Linked DNA regions of Homo sapiens: region 2 is linked to region 1. Evidence: promoter capture Hi-C in 16 types of primary human blood cells and fetal thymus (Javierre and others, 2016). All regions are on one chromosome and are shown on one strand. The core of a region is centred on a gene start or on the middle of the fragment in contact, and the rest is flanking DNA. Distances in the headings are between cores, read along the strand shown. Region 1 holds the start of EPRS1 (glutamyl-prolyl-tRNA synthetase 1). Region 2 holds the start of HEATR1 (HEAT repeat containing 1).

Evidence for each region. Contacts are between HindIII fragments. The CHiCAGO score rates a contact against its expected background, and 5 or more counts as called.
Region 2: a contact is called between the fragment with the promoter of HEATR1 here and the fragment with the promoter of EPRS1 in region 1, in 3 of 17 cell types (naive CD4 T cells, total CD4 T cells and non-activated CD4 T cells). The highest score is 12.3, in naive CD4 T cells.

Annotation. Positions count from the first base shown.
Region 1 is chr1:220,044,293-220,049,575 of GRCh38, forward strand. It overlaps EPRS1 (glutamyl-prolyl-tRNA synthetase 1), which reads right to left and starts at 2,213. Exons shown (of 32, transcript NM_004446.3): 1 at 2,051-2,213. The coding sequence starts at 2,096. RefSeq lists enhancers at 1,366-1,923, 1,965-2,294, 2,355-2,424. The HindIII fragment of the contact is 10,455 bases long and covers 1-5,283 here.
Region 2 is chr1:236,602,988-236,608,523 of GRCh38, forward strand. It overlaps HEATR1 (HEAT repeat containing 1), which reads right to left and starts at 1,529. Exons shown (of 45, transcript NM_018072.6): 1 at 1,435-1,529; 2 at 967-1,140; 3 at 173-389. The coding sequence starts at 1,108. RefSeq lists an enhancer at 1,470-1,729. The HindIII fragment of the contact is 2,349 bases long and covers 1-1,586 here.

The sequences.
Region 1 (5,283 bases), core at 963-3,462:
AATTAGAAAAATGATATATTTGATAACTGGCATACAGTTCAAAATGACAAGAGTTTCACAGAATACTGGCAGAATTCTGAGTTCTGTAATACACTACAGAAACAGGCCACCTTCAGGGTGATTTTCTAAGTAACAAAAAATGTATCAGGAGGCTGGGCATGGTGGCTCACACCTGTGGTCCTGGCACTTTGGGAGGCCAAGGCGGGCGGACTGCTTGAGGTCAGGAGTTTGAGACCAGCCTGGCCAACATGGCAAAATGCTGTGTCTACTAAAAAATACAAAAATTAGGCGGGCATGGTGGTGCGCACCTCTAAGCGCAACTACTCGTGTGGCTGAGAACAAGAATTGCTTGATCCTGGGAGGCAGAGGTTGCAATGAGCTCGGTCTCCAAAAAAAAAAAAAAAAAAAAAAAAAAAAAAAACAGTATCAGGAGCTTTAACTATAGTCTCACTTAACTCTGGCAACCAATCCTATCTGGAAGACATTATTCTCCCTTTCTTAAAACAAGGAAACTATGGGAGAAGCTAAATAAGGAACTTGTCAAGGTTTCACAACTAGTAAGTGGCAGCCAGGATTGGACTCAGGTCTGCAGAAACCAAATGTCTTTGCTCTCAATCATGAAGGCACTCTAATGCCTTTCCAGCTCAGGAATCAAACCCATTCCTTTTAGAGTTCATTGATTTGTTGTGCGGTTAGTCCATTACTGCAACCAATATGCCAAAACATTACCATCTTTTAAATGTTTAAAATGGCTATTAAGTTGTGTTTTTGTTCAACAACCTTAAAACATCACCAAAGTTGAGAATATAATGAATAATTTCATCAGCCCCACGTGGTCAACTGTATATAAAGGTATGGGCTTCTTCAACATTAGAAAGTACTGTGTGTGTATTATCATACATATGCATTAACAAATATTAGGTCAGGCTGGGTACTGTGGCTCACGCCTGTAATCCTAGTACTTTGGGAGGCCAAGTCAGGATGGCTTGAGCCCAGGAGTTTGAGACCTGCCTGGGCAACACAGTGAAACGCCATCTTTCCAAAAAAGACACAAACACAAAATTAGCCAGGCATGGTGGCACGCGCCTGTAGTCCCAGCTACTAAGGAGGCTGAGGTGGGAGGATCATCTGAGCCCGGAAGTTCGATGCTGCAGTGAGCCTTGAAAGCGCCACTGCACTCCAGCCTGGACGATAGAGCAAGACCCTGACTCTCAAAAGAAAAAAAAAAATCGGCAAACTACTTAAATTCTTCTGTGTAATTTCCCAAAGTAATGAAAAAGCAGAAATTCTAAGCAATCTACCAACAATAATCTTGGTCATGTCGAAAAAATAATTCCAAACAGAACTTAAGATGTGTCAGTAAGGTGACAGATCCAATGTTTACTCTGAAATTTACTACACATCCACAGGGTGCAGTAAAAGCAACCGCATCAGTCTACAGTGTACCTGGGTGTTTTCCCCAATTACCCTACCACATTTAATTAAAAATAAATGCAGCCTCAGTTGAAATCCTAAATGCTAATATGCTCGTCTGGGTTATTTCTTCTGAACTCGATAAAACGTAAGGAAAATTTGACTCAAGTGAACTGAGGATTTCTCCTGAGAGGAGGGACAGGACAGGAAAGGAGGTAAGAAAAGGAGTTGGGGGAAAAATGCTAAAAGAGAAGCGACGACTATTGGATTTTAAGTTTTAAAATCTTATTTCCACGAGCAACTCTCGCTCTCCGGGGGAAAAAGGGAGAGGTGAGTTGACTGGGAGTTCATCCCTCTGAGAAAAAGATCCGAAGCGGAGTCTCGTGTTGTCTAGCCCGGGCTCACACTGCGCCTCCCTCCATGCCCGGGAAAACCATCTTCAGGAGCAGATGCACCTGCCGGGGACACGGGGCGAGGGGTGCGGAGCCTCCTCCACGTACAATTCTGGGGCGAGGGGCAGGTCCAACATCCCAGATGGTGACCACCACTGCGCAAAGCCGGGGCGCAGCGACCTTCCACGCCCTGCACCCTCCCTGGCTGATGCAACCCACACAGGTCATTGGTCTCGGCCCCTTACCTAGCGGAGGGTCTCCTGAATTCACGGTCAGAGAGAGCGTCGCCATCTCCACCAGTCCGCTGGTCCACCTGTCAGTACGCCTGGCTCGTGCCAGAACTACGGAGGACCCCGCGAAAGGAAGAAGATGCAACGTGTGCGCGTACCCGACGCCGCCGCAGCCTTCGCTCCGCCCCTGCGCCGCAGCTACTGCCGACACCGCGCACGCCGCGGTGCGACATCGTCGCGCGCCGTCTTCGTCCCCGCCCGCAGGTTCCAGAGCCTGCTACCCCTCCTCTTGGCCGCCAGGGTTAGAACGGCCTGCGTGGCCTTTCGTGCTGCGGTGGGAAAGACGCTGAAGTGGACGGGACTTTACGACACTTCGTCAAGTCAGCAGGTCGTAAAACAGCAGGTTGTAAAACCATCTTTAAGATGGGATAGGCGTTTATGTGAAGCACGAAACAAAAGCATGCACTGTCTTTATGTAAAAAGAAAAGTCCTGGAAGCATACACACGATAGCCATGATTACGTTGGGAATGGGAGAAGTTTTTCTCGTTGTTTATTTTATACATTCCCCCCCGTTTTTTTTTTTCCAAAACAAGAACGTATTTTCAAGAGTTATTTGCGTGTTGAAAATAATGGTTAAAGGAAATATAAAAGACTCTTTAAAAATCACTGCAGGCCGGGCGTGGTGGCTCACGCCTGTAATCTCAGCACTTTAGAAGGTGTAGGCGGGCGGATCACCTGAGGTCAGGAGTTCGAGACCAGTCTGGCCAGCATGGTGAAACCCCATCTCTACTAAAAATACAAAAATTAGCCTGGCATGGTGGTGGGCCCCTGTAATCCCAGCTACTTGGGAGGCTGAGGCAGGAGAATCGCTTGAACCTGGGAGGTGGAGGTTGCAGTGAGCCGAGATCGTGCTACTGCATCCAGCCTGGGCGACAGAGTGAGACTCCTTCTCGAAAAGAAAAAAAAAAAAAATCACAGCAGAGGCCGGGCGCGGTGGCTCAGGCCTGTAATCCCAGCACTTTGGGAGGCCGGAGGCGAGCGGATCTCGAGGTCAGGAGTTGGAGACCAGCTTCACCAACATGGTGAAACTGTAGAGACGGGGGTCTCTACTAAAAGTACAAAAATTAGCCGGGAATGGTAGCGCGCACCTTTAATCCTAGCTACTTGGGGAGCTGAGGCAGGAGAATCGCTTGAACCCGGGAGGAGGAGGTTGCGGTGAGCCGAGATCGCGGCACTGCACTCCAGCCTGGGCGACAGACTGAGACCCCGTTTCAAAACAAACAAAAAATCACTGCAGATAGGCGCAGTGGCGCGCTCCTGTAGTCTCAGCTATTAAGAAGGCTGAGGCAGGATCGCCTGAGCCCAGGAAGATGAGGCTGTAGTGGCCTCGCCGTGGACTTGCCTGTGAGTAGCCACTACCCTCCAGCCTGGCCGACACAGGGAGAGACCTGATCTAAAAAACAAAACAAAAAAACCCTCCGATGCCGCCCCCAATCATGGAGTCCACAGGTGTTTTTTTCAGCGTCTCATCTGATTCTCCCTTTCAAATCCTTTGTGACGGACGTGCATGCATGAGCTCCAGAGATACTCCAAGGTGTATACACACATTCGTGTGTGTGAGCTGCACCCATATTTCAAGGGCTGGTGTTAAAGTACGGGGACCCGGGATGGATTCCAAGAACCATCTCAACCACATCCTCGCCTACACTTTTTCTTAACCTCCCCAAGACATCCTTGTTTTCATTAGGGAGGGCCCCTTAGATTACATCTCCCATGAGACTTGAGGCCAGGCGCGGTGGCTCATGCCTGTAATCCCAGCACTTTGGGAAGCTGAGGCGGGCGGATCACCTAAGGTCGAGAGTTTGAGACCAGCCAAGCCAACATGGAGAAACCCCATCTCTAGTAAAAATACAAAAAAATAGCTGGGTGTGGTGGTGCATGCCTGTAATCCCAGCTACTCGGGAGGCTGACGCCAGAGAATCGCTTGAACCTGGGAGGCAGAGGTTTCGGTGAGCTGACATCACGCCATTGCACTCCAGCCTGGGTAACAGGAGCAAAACTTCATCTCAATAAAAAAAAAAAAAAAAAAAAAGAAGCCTACTTTCAGGATAGTGGGACTTATAGCAGAAAGTCTTAGGTCTTAGAGTTACCATCTTGTTGGATGCTTTTACTAGTTCCAATCATTTTTTAGTTATGTTGGATTTTCTAGGTAAATATCATTTTCTTCCTATCCAAAATTTACATGACCTATATCTTATCTCTTTCATTGGCTAGAACTTCCAGAATGATGTTAAATGGGAGCAATAATAGTGTCGAATAAGAGAGTATTTGCTTTGTTCCTGACTTTAGTGGGAATGCCGCTAATGTTGCATTATCAAGAATAGTGTCTGTGGCCGGGCACGGTGGCTCGCACCCGTAATCCCAGCACTTGGGAGGCCGAGGTGGGTGGATCACCTAAGTAGAGGACTTCGAGACCAGCCTGATCAACATGGTGAAACCCTGTCTCTACTAAAAATACAAAATTAGCTGGGCGTGGTGGTGCATGCCTGTAATCCCAGCTACTCAGGAGGCTGAGGCAGGAGAATCGCATGAACCTGGGAGCTGGAGGTTGCAGTGAGCAGAGATCATGCCACTGTACTCCAGCCCGGGGCAACAAGAGCAAAAAGTCCGTCTCAAAAAAAAAAATGTTAAAGAATAGTGTCTGTAAGCCAGGTGTAATGGCTCATACCTGTAATCCCAACACTTTGGGAGGCTGAGGTAGGCAGAACACCTGAGGTCCGGAGTTCGAGACTAGCCTGGTGAATATGGTGAAACCGCGTCATTTTACTAAAAATACAAAATTAGCCTGGAGTAGTGGTGCATGCCTGTAGTCCCAGCTACTTGGCAGTCTGAGGCAGGAGAATCACTGGAACCCAGGAGGCAGAGGTTGCAGTGAGCCTAGATGGCACCATTGCACTCCAGCCTGGGCAATAAGAGCAAAACTTTGTCTCAAAAAAAAAAAAAAAAGAATAGTGTCTGCTAGGTTGGCTGCAATGGCTCTTGCTGGTAATGTCAGCACTTTGGCAGGCCCAGATGGGAGGATCACCTGAGACCAGGAGTTTGAAGGTACAGTGAGCTATGATCGCGCCACCGCACTATAGCCTGGATGACAGAACAAGACCCTTTCCCTGAAAATAAAAATAAAAAAAGAATAGTGTTTGCCGCTGGTTTCTTATATATTCTTAGGTTAACAGGGTTTTTTTTTTTC
Region 2 (5,536 bases), core at 279-2,778, about 17 Mb after region 1:
ACAAAAAAGAATTTAAAGGCAGAAGAGCATGCTTATCTCACACAATGGACATTGTATCAATCTCTTAATATACCTAATTTTTCAGCTTTAATTTGATAAGTTCTCAACTACTTAATTTTTTACAAGACCAAAGTGATTAACCCATAGTTATTTCTGTAATTCTATTAGCTACCTGTGAATCAACCACTCCAGACACTTCTGTGCTGGCTTAAGCAGGAAGTAAGGCGACAAGTGAATAAGGAATAATGAAATGTTTTCATCCAACTGTTTGTTTACTGCTTTGGTCTGAACACTTCGCTCCAAGGTTTTTGCTAGCTGACTGAACAACGGTGCTTCAAACTGCTCAAAGGAAGGATCAATTCCAAGCAACTCTTCCAGGCCAGTACATCCTAAATTTCAAAAAAGGCCAGTTTATTTAACAATTCTTCGTAAGCAAATTCATCCCACCCCTCTTTTACAGTTTTACTTACCCCTAAGAAGTTTCTGAATTCTTTAAGTACATATAATTTATAATACAGTCCCAAACACTGATTTCTAGTTTTCAACTTTTAGAGTAAATCCTATCTCATCTACTAGAACAGAAAGTACTTCGTGGCAGGGAACACTTTTTTTTTTTTTTTTTTGGATATCCCCTACAATAACTAGGCCAGTCCTCTGAGAGGACTTCTCCGTCACCCCAGTCACTGCCTCCATCCCCCTTTTAGCTGTTCTTCTCTTTGACATATTAGTTGACCTCTCTAATTTTGTTTCTTCATCTGTGAAATCCAGATACCTCTACTCATAAACATTTCAAGCACCAAGCACCTGACTGTTATGTTCTCTTTCCCTTAAAAATATACATCAACATGCTAGAAACTGCTAAGGAAGAGGACGGGACAGAAGAGAAAACAAGGGGAAAAAAAAAAAACAGTAACATCCAGAAAACAAACGCTTCCAAGAGCTTTTCTAAGTTAAAAGATGGCTCACCAATGGCGAAGGCGGTGTCCCTGTCGATTGTGGCCGCTTCCTTAGGGTCAAATAACAAAGAAGCAACTTCATCTCTAGATAAGAGGCTGGCATCACTTTGAGGGAGGGCGAGTCGTTGCAGCTGCTGGGCTAAGGACGTCATCTTTCACGCCAGCGGAGTTTTAATGACACGGGCTAAAAAAACGTAAGCACTTTGATAAGTTTCTACGAAATTATAAGGCGCCTCGTAAACAAACAATTCTCTTCTGCACTCAGCACCGTCATGGACACACAACGCGGGTGTCCTGAGATTTGTGGACCCCGGAGATGCAAAGACGATGGCAGCAGCGTTAACAACTAATTACAGTAGCGGCGACCGCGCCAAGGCTTTCCTTCAACCCTGATTCCGCAGATATCCGGAAAACTCTTACCCTCCCTCGATATGCCGCCCCCATCCGCAGCCACATCAAGCGGCTCTGTGCCGCTTACCTGGAACTGGGAATTTGGGTATATCTTGGAAGGCAACAACTCTTCACAGCGCTTCCCACATGGTACCAAGGAGCCCAACCCTCACCCGGAAACCTAAGGCATGCTGTAGAGCAACTTCCTGCTGCAGGCGCTACGGCAAGTGAAGAGGTTCAAGCTTGCCGGGAATGCGACGAGACAGCTCCGCCTCCCGAGACGAAAGCCCGCCCCTCAGCCCGCCGGACTCAGGCTCAAGTCTGAGCTTCGCCTCTGTAGCTCCGGTTTAGCGGTCTGCTCTGCGGCTTGTGTCTGAAGCTTTCGGTCTCTGGATGGGCCTTCTGTGGGCTTTAAGGATCCGTAGCCAGAATCATTCATTCAGTAGTGATCCAGCCTTTACTAGGTGCCAGCAGCACCGCGTAGTGTTGAAAGCTATGGGTTGTGAAGTCACGTGGTTTGGGTTCAAATCCTGGCGCTGGCGCCTGTCGGCCGGGTTAACGCCACCAAATTATTTCATCTCTCCGAGCTTGTTACTCACTCTACAAAGTGGGAAGAGGCCGAGATTGTCGTGAAAGGAGCTTCTGCTCCTAGTGCAAACCGATCTATAAATGCTGGACTCCACCGCCCCAGAGCTTGGGGGAGATCTTGTCACTCCTCTATGTTTCCATTCCCGAGGGGTAAATGGCATATATTTTTTTCTTTCAAAACGAATCATAGTCAGGCGCGGCCTGTAATCCGAGCACTTTGGGAAGCTCAGGCGAGCTGATCACCTGAGGTCAGGAGTTCGGGACCAGCCTGGCCAACATAGCGAAACCCCGTCTCTACTAAAAATAAAAGAATTAGCCGGACGTGGTGGCGGGCGCCTGTAATCCCAGCTACTAGGAAAGCTGAGACAGAAGAATCGCTGGAACCCGGGAGTCGGAGGTTGCAGTGGGCCAAGATTGCACCACTGCACTCCACAGAGCGAGACTGTCTCAATAAATAAATTAATCGAATCCTGTTGAGGTATAATTTACAAACAATGGTTACACCCACGTCAGTGGAAGAGTTTGATGACTTTTAGCAAATGCATGTATAGGTGTAATGACCTCCCCAGTCAAAATGACAGTTTCCATCGCCCCTAAAAATTGTCTCTTGCCTGTTTGCGAAGATTCCCGCAACCACTGGTCTTGGCCTCACTACAGATAGTGTTGCGGAAGAGTATCCTTATGTATGAATATAGCTAATCTGTTTCCAAAACACCGGTATGCGCTAGAACTAGGATGAACTGACGTCTTCCAGACGAAGGAGTGAGATCTGATGCTCTGTCTTTTCTGGATGCATTAATTTCTCTGAAGAGCTCTGCGGGGCCAGGGGGTCAAGTCTTTCTGTAACCGTCTTCCCTGGAGAATGTCAGAAACACAGCTACAAATTTGGAGGCCCTGGTTGTCTATACCTCATGCAGATTCTCTCCCATTTACAAACAGAATCTTTTGTTGTTGGTTTGCTTTAAAAGCATTTAAAACAACCAAATATTTTCTTCAGTTATTAGTATTTCTACTGACTGTTAATAATCTTCTTTTCATGTGGTGTTGAGTGCCTTGCAGAGAATAACATGAAAATTCTAGTAGTACCTATTTCATTCTTACAAACATATCTCTCAAAGGAATTTTTTTTTTCTTTCTAACATGTCACAGGAGTTTTACCTTTACAGAAGCAATCAGCTTTCGGTACTTTAAAAGAAATGAACACCAGGTCTGTTTCATTGATAAGATAATTTGCTTTTTTTGCTTAAAAAATACCCTATATATTTTTTAAAAGCTTTATTTAAGTGAAACTTGAAAAAGTGCTACAAAGATTTGACTCAGTCCTTCCTATGTCAGCTGTGATGGTGTATAGTGCCATGCCGAATTTTACTTTGGAAAGTAAAAAGGAAAACAAGTCAGATGTTCATAAATGTAATTTTTTTTTAAAAAAAAGCTTTGGTTTTAAAAAAAATGTAATAATCTTGAATTATATATTTTTATCTGACGGACAGATGTACCAAGCTGGTATTTTCTTCATAGCCATTATCACTACTTGAAATGACCTGATTTGTCTGTTTGTTTACCTGTTTATTTCTTGTATTCCCTCACTATAATATTGGCTTCAGCACGTTGGCATAAAGCCCATCCCTAAGACTTATGGAGCCTGAGAAAGAGTACAGATGGACTCACTGCTGTAGGTGTAAATATTTAAAAGTTATAAATTAACTTAACACATTATTAACTAGGATATGCTATAACTCTCAATATTGGTGAGTAAACATTTATAATGGCAAAATAAAAATGTTTTTACATAGATGAAAATCAGCAAAATCTGATTGCATTTAATTATATCATTCCTGTCCGGGTGTCCTATTGATTGGCTGATTATTTTGGATGAGTGATAAAGACATCTATAGTTAATACATTTCCTATATATTTAGCCCATGAAAATTTACCTTCATTTCAGCAAAATTACCATGTATGCTGTTTGATCAAGATTTTCATGTAATTGTGTTCTATCAGAAATAATGATCAAAAAGGATTAAAAATAAAATTTAATTATATTCCAAACATATAGTTTGAATGTTTCAATAAAAATATAAATTAAATTAAAAAGCAATACATTAAATCTTTTTCACTTTTTTCAAAAGATTTACCTTTCTTATAAGATGTAAAGTATAATTAGTGACAATATTTTTTTTTTGTTTTGAGATGGAGTCTTGCTCTGTCGCCCAGGCTCGAGTGTGGTGGCGTGATCTCAGCTCACTGCAACCTCCGCCTCCCAGGTTCAAGCAATCCTCTGCCTCAGCTTCTCAAGTAGCTGGGATTACAGGTGCCTGCCACCACACCCAGCTAATTTTTGTATTTTTAGTAGAGACGGGGTTTAATTAGTGACAAAATTTTAAGTAAAATAATTTAAATAAATCTAAAGTTGTATTTGTTTTTTTGGTAAATATTACTTAATGAAATTGTTCATTAAAGTAAATTACTCACAAGCGTATCATTCAATGTCCACCTAGTTGCCAGTGTAAAGAATTGGTATCACCCTTTGTTCATGTTATGTCTGTATCTACCTATTTTCAAATTTCAGAGTCATGTGAATTGTTTAATATTGTTAAATGTTCCTCAGCAACCATATCTGATTGTTGAGAATTCTACACTAATTCCTGAGTATATCCAGAACCATAAATTGGGGGGAAAAAAAGGAAATAAGAAATTCCATGTTTGGAACTACTTAGATATAATACTTTATAATGCAAAAATATGTTCATGTAGTTTGAAAGGAAAAGTGTGACAAATTAACTTTTCTTTTCTCTTACCTAAGCATTTCTGTATTCAGCATCCTGGTCGGGTCCCGGCCAGGTGCGGTGGCTCATGCCTGTAACCCAGCACTTTGGAGGCTGAGGCGGGCGGCTCACCTGAGGTCAGGAGTTTGAGACCAGCCTGGCCAACATGGTGAAACCCCATCTCTACTAATAATACTAATCCTGACTCTACTAAAAAAAAATTGGCCGGGCGTGGTGGCGCACGCCTGTAATCCCAGCTACTAGGGAGGCTGAGGCAGGAGAATCTCTTGAACCGGGAGGTGGAGGTTGCAGTGAGCCGACATCGCGCCGTTTGCACTCCAGCCTGGGCAACAAGAGCGAAACTCCGTCTCAAAAATAAAACGAAACAAAAAACAAACAAAAAAACAAATTCTCCCTATGCTCTTAGGCAGCGTCCGGAAACAGTACAATCCACGGATATTCAGTGTATTCAGACAGGGTTGTCTTTTACTTTCAGGACAAGGGACAAGAGACCTATTTCCCACAAACTTAAATGCATAAATCATGAGGGTCTATGTTTAGGTTTATAGGTTATGCCACAGTAGTGCTAAATGGCAGGTTTTGAAAGGCAGGTTCCCACATTTTTAAGCAAATTTATTTTGTATGATTTGTGATATGCAGAGATCACGATCTAAGGATGATGTTGAAGACTTTCTCGTGTTTACTACTAAATCCTAACTACCAAATAAAGTACCTGGAACGTGGTTAACAATACATATTTATTTATCGAATGAATGAATGAATATAAATGTGCATAAGCTGTATCTGTATCTCCTTCCTGTTCAAGAAATGTGTATC